2 separate regions of the Homo sapiens genome follow, and region 1 is linked to region 2. The links are contacts of gene promoters, found by promoter capture Hi-C in human tissues and cell types (Jung and others, 2019). All regions are on one chromosome and are shown on one strand. The core of a region is centred on a gene start or on the middle of the fragment in contact, and the rest is flanking DNA. Distances in the headings are between cores, read along the strand shown.

The links. Contacts are between HindIII fragments. The study calls those that stand out against the background at their distance.
Region 1: a fragment that was not itself captured here is called in contact with the fragment with the promoter of C3orf20 in region 2 in 2 of the 25 tissues and cell types used here (lymphoblastoid cells and mesendoderm cells).

What each region holds. Positions count from the first base shown.
Region 1 is chr3:14,742,993-14,745,881 of GRCh38, forward strand. All of the region lies in intron 12 of C3orf20 (chromosome 3 open reading frame 20), which reads left to right. Among named protein-coding and RNA genes, the nearest start is that of LINC02011, 67 kb to the right of the region's middle. The HindIII fragment of the contact is 8,404 bases long and covers 1-2,889 here.
Region 2 is chr3:14,673,391-14,676,437 of GRCh38, forward strand. C3orf20 (chromosome 3 open reading frame 20) reads left to right here and starts at 1,751. Exons shown (of 17, transcript NM_032137.5): 1 at 1,751-1,862. RefSeq lists an enhancer at 263-312. The HindIII fragment of the contact is 10,656 bases long and covers 1-3,047 here.

The sequences.
Region 1 (2,889 bases), core at 229-2,728, 69 kb after region 2:
GCCAAACCATATAATTCCACCCGTGGCCCCCCTAAATCTCATGTCCTCACATTTCAAAATTAATCATGCCTTCCCAACAGTCCCCCAAAGTCTTAACTCATTTCAGCATTAACCCAAAAGTCCAGTCCAAAATGTCATCTGAGACAAGGCAAGTCCCTTCCGCCTGTGAGCCTTTAAAATTGAAAGCAAGCTAGCTACTTCCTAGATACAATGGGGGTACAGGTATTGGGTAAATACAGCCATTTCAAATGGGAGAAATTGGCCAAAACAAAGGGGTTACAGGGCCCGAGGAAGTCTGAAATCCAGCGGGCCAAATTTTAAAGCTTTGAAATGACCTCCTTTGACTCCAGGTCTCACATTCAGGTCAGGCTGATGCAAGAGGTAAGTTCCCAGGGTCTTGGGCAGCTCTGCCCCTGTGACTTTGCAGGGTACAGCCTCCCTCCTGGCTCCTTTCATGGGCTGACGTTGAGTGGCTTTTCCAGGTGCATGGAGCAAGCTGTCACTGGATCTACCATTCTGGGGTCTGGAGGACAATGGCCCTCTTCTCACAGCTCCACTAGGCAGTGCCCCAGTAGGGACTTTGCATGGGGGCTCTGACCCCACATTTCCCTTCTGCACTGCCCTAGCAGAGGTTCTTCATGAGGACCTCACCCCTGCAGCAAACTTTTGCCTGAGCATCCAGGCGTTTCCATACATCTGAAATCTAGGTGGAGGTTCCCAAACCTCAATTCTTCACTTCTGTGCACCCACACACTCAACTCCTTGTGGAAGCTGCCAAGGTTTGGGGCTTCCACCCTCTGAAGCCACAGCCCAAGCTATATGTTGGCCCCTTTCAGCCATGGCTGGAGCAGCTGGGACACAGGGCACCAAGCCCCTAAGCTGCACACAGCATGGGGACCCTGGGCCCAGCCCACGAAACCACTTTTTCCTCCTGGGCCTCCAGGCCTGATGGGAGGGGCTATCAGGAAGTTCTCTGATATGGCCTGGAGACATTTTTCCCATGGTCTTGGAAATTAACATTAGGCTCCTTGCTGCTTATGCAAATTTCTGCAGCCAACTTGAATTTCTCCCCAGAAAATGGGCTTTTCTTTTCTATCACATAGTCAGGCTGAAAATTTTCCAAACTTTATGCTCTGCTTCCCTTATAAAACTGAATGCCTTTAACAACACCCAGGTTACCTCTTGAATGCTTTGCTGCTTAGAAATTTCTTCCACCAGATACTCTAAATCATCTCTCTCAAGTTCAAAGTTCCACAAATCTCTAGGGCAGGGGCAAAATGCTACCAGTCTCTTTGCTAAAACATAACAAGAGTCACCTGTGATCCAGTTCCCAACAAGTTCCTCATCTCCATCTGAGACCACCTCAGCCTGAATTTTATTGTCCATATCGCTGTCAACATTTTGGGCAAAGCCATTCAACAAGTCTCTAGGAAGTTCCAAAATTTCCCACATTTTCCTGTCTTCTTCTGAGCCCTTCAAACTGTTCCAACCTTTGTCTGTTACCCAGTTCCAAAGTCACTTCCACATTTTCGGGTATCTTTTCAGCAATGCCCCACTCTACTGGTACCAATTTACTGTATTAGTTCGTTTTCACACTGCTGATAAAAACATACTCGAAACTGGGAATGAAAAAAGGTTAATTGGACTTACAGTTCCCCATGGCTGGGGAGGCCTTAGAATCATGGTGGGAGGTGAAAGACTCTTCTTACATGGCGACGACAAGAGAAAATGAGGAAGAAGCAAAAGCAGAAACCCCTGATACACCCATCAGATCTCATGAGATTTATTCACTGTCACGAGAATAGCATGGGAAAGACCAGCCCACGTGATTCAATTACCTCCCCACTGGGTCCCTCCCACAACATGTGGGAATTCTGGGAGATAAATGCAAGTTGAGATTTCAGTGGGGACACAGCCAAACCATATCATTGGTGTAATAATTCCTTCTTCCTGTGTACTCTCCATGTTCCTGTGAATAGCAAATACTGTTTCTTAGTTGTGAAAATGTGCTTTTTAAACAGTGAGTGCTGTGAAAATGTAGAGTCATGTGTTAATGTTTCCAGATATCCTCAGGGACATTAGTGGGAAGTAAGGAAGCAACTGACAAATCTGTTTGCCTGTTAGAGCAGGAAGGGGAGCAGTTGATGAAGCTAGGCTGAAGAGGTTAGATTTGATGTGCAGGACAAATTACTAGAACCCACAGAGAGAGAGAGAGCAGTGAGGGAGGACCTTCTGACAGAGCCATTGGCCTGCAGTTGAGAGGTGCATGACCCCACAGGGAGGGAACTAGGGAGGTGGCTCTCCAACCTTATGCTCCTCTTTCCCTCTGATCTCCTGCTGGTGCCCCTACTGGCAAAACCCAACTAGAGTTTCCTTATGCCTATGCAAGCAAGTGCAAATATGCCTTATTTCTTCCGCTTTGCTGGCTTAAAAAGCATTATATTAAAACAGTGTTCTGAACTTTACTTTTTCACAATATGTCATGAATAGCTGTCATTCTTTTTCTTCTTGCTATATAATACCCACTGTGTAGGTGTTCTGTGATTAGCCCAATCCTTTTTTCCTATTACAAGCAATGGAGGTAGTAACCATATACATTTGTGATATCACATTTGTACAACTATATCTGTAAATAAATTCCTAAAGATGAAATTATTAGACCAAGGGTCATGTGCATTTATAATTTTAAGAGATAGTGTCAAATTAATCACCATAAGATTATACCAATTTACATTCTCATCAGCAAAATATGTTACCTTAGTATAGTTTTAATTTGTATTTATATTATTAAAAGTGAAGTGGAGCTTCTTTACATAATTTTTATGAGTTACATACAACATATACATAATATAAAATTGACCATTTTAACCATTTAATGAAGTGTGCAGT
Region 2 (3,047 bases), core at 501-3,000:
GAGGCTGAGGCAGGAGAATGGCATGAACCCAGGAGGCGGAGCTTGCAGTAAGCCAAGATCGCGCCACTGCACTCTAGCCTGGGCAACAAGAGCAAGGCTGTGTCTCAAAAAAAAAAAAAAAAACAATGAATAGACAAAGAAAGATGGAAAGAGGATGTGTGTGTAACCCAGAGCAGAAGGACTTGAGGCTGACTGTGGAGTAGAAAGGAGAAGGGAGACAGAGACAAGGCAGGCAGCAGGAAGAGCTGTAGGTGTGGGAGCCAGCATCACAAAGGGTCCATCCCAGGTGACCACATCCATGCCTGCAGCACCCGGGTGGACGGCGAAGCAGTTATGCTCGTTGGCTCATGGTCACTGTTATCTGAAGATAACTGTGAGTCACATTTTCTCTGGGATTTCAAAAACTAAATAAACCTATTTATAATCCCCTCTTAACAGTATAATTTAGTTCAGTGTTTTGTGAGCCCTTTTCTGTTTCAGATCCAGTTCTTTGAGTATTGACACACCATCACAGTCTTACTGTGACACGGGCCTGTCTTGTACCAGTGTATCCAGCAGATGGCATTAGAATTCTTAAATGTCAGCTCCATACTCTTAAAACAGCACACTCCAACAGAAATAAAAAATAAATCTGTGGCGCATGCCTGTAATCCCAGCTACTTGGGAGGCTGAGGCAGGAGAATCGCTGGAGCCTGGGAGGTGGAGGTTGCCGTGAGCTGAGATTGCGCCATTGCACTTCAGCCTGGGCAACGAGTGAAACTCCGTCTCAAAATTAAAAAAAAAAAAATAAGCCCAGAGTGTCATTTTCAATTTTCTAGCAACCATATTTAAAAAGTGAAATTATAACATATTTTATTTAACTCAGCATATCCAAAATATTTCAATATGTACTCAATATATGCAAATTATTAGTGAGATCTAAAATTATTCTTCACACTAAGAATTCAAAACTCACTGTGTATCTGGTTATAGCATAATTTGGATGCTAACGTTTCATCAGGAATACTTGATCTGTATTTAGATTTTGTAAAATATGCAGTTGAAAAACACAAATTCATATCCAAGTTGTTCCAAAGATAGTTAAACATAGTAAAGTTTTTCAGTAACTGAATTGAACATCAAGTTTGAAAAAATAAAACCCAGTTCCTTAGTCATGCTAACCTTATTTCAGGTGCTCAAAGGGCCCATGCATCTAGTGCTGCTGTCCTGGACAGAGCGGCTCTAAGTGATCTGCTTTTACACGCTTTATGGTCCGACTATACATAATCCTCCCATTAGTAACTAAAGTATTGGCCAATAAATTTTTCCCAGGCATACATTAAACATTCACAATACTCTGTGGCCATGTTTAACTTGGGAGCAAGTAGTGGCAAAACCTCCTATACAAAAACGTGACCACACCTCATTCATGCCTTTGTAGAGCTAAGCAAAATGCTTTAGATCAAAAATTGCCTTGAATTATTTACGTTCATTGTAATCTCTCCTCTAGGCCTTTGTGTGTTTTGATAGAGTTCGTTTGAATTGGCTCAATAAATCATTTTATTTGCTGCAGAATTCCCAAAGAACATTCAGATCCATATACATGAGATTCCTGCTGCGTTTAGCCATACATTTGCCAGACTTGTGATGTCGTTTATTCCCTGTGAAAGCTCAAGTGCAGCCCACAGGGAGGTTTTCAGCTGACCTTGTTGTGACATGCAGATGAGGTAGTAGAGTTTAGAATTTGGAACGGGGATGGGTACTGGTCTTTACAGTTAACACAACCTGGAGTAGCCCATGCCATACTGTGTCCTTTTAAGTCAGTAAATTGAACTAAGTCGGTTATTCGGCAAGCAGTTCCTATAAAAAACTACATGGCTAAGGTGAGTGATGATCACTGAAAGGAATTCATTGACCCACTGAAAAAATGAGAGTAGATGAAACTACTGCAGTCATCCTGCCTGCCCCTGTTAGCTGGCTGAGTGAGGTGTTTTGCCCCGGTGGGCTGTGGACATTATCTTCATGTTTAAAGTGTGTGTACTGGGGGCGAGAGGCCAGGAATGATATGATGGGTGTAGGTCATTGTCTAGGAAAACTAGAAAATCCAAATGTTCAAAGGAAGTAAGGTGTTGTAGTGAAAAGCTGTCACCTGGCCTATCGATGTTCTGTTATGGTGTTTCTTAGTAAATCCCAGGCTGCATCTATATAGTCACTCATAGTAAGTGTGTGTTTGTCCAGTGGTAGGAGTGGCCAGAAATATTGCATCTGTTCCACCCTCAATTGAAACAGCTTCTTTCTCCACTGTATTTCTTTTGTTTTTGTTATTTATTTATTTATTTATTTATTTTTGGAGATGGAGTCCCGCTCTGCTGCCTAGGCTGGAGTGCAGTGGCTCACTGCAACCTCCACTCCCCGGGTTCAAGTGATTCTCCTGCCTCAGCCTCCCGAGTAGCTGGGATTACAGGCATGCACCACCACGTCCAGCTAATTTTTGTATTTTTAGTAGAAATGGGGTTTCACCCATGTTGGCCAGGCTGGTCTCGAGCTCCTGACCTCAGATGATCTATCTGCCTCATCCTCCCAAAGTGCTGGGATGACGGGTGTGAGCCACTGCACCCGGCCCTCCACTACATTTCTAATTGCCACATTCTCCCTAAGTCTGAAAGCTCACATGCTTAGTAACAGTTTGGCCAGGTTTTAAGCATTTTCTGTGGGGTGTACTGCATTCCTTCCCCCTCCCCCCCGCCTTTTTTTTTTTGGTCATTATTCCCTGCGGTTGAACAGAGCACCTCCCCGCACCCCACCCCACACCAGCCTCTCCATGCACAGCCATAGTTGTTCACGGTTTTTGAAAATCAAAAAATACAAGAGTGGACCTTGCTCCCAGCCCAGGTCTCCCAGGTTGCAAGTGAGTCTGGTAACTGTGCCACTGTCTTTGCTGGGAACCCAGGTTTTATTGCTTTTCCAAAAATAATCACCTTTTCCTTAAAAAGAAAAGGCTTTGTATCTCTGTGTCCAACTTATGATCTGCACAGGTTTCCATGGAATGTGTAATCAGTGTATACACA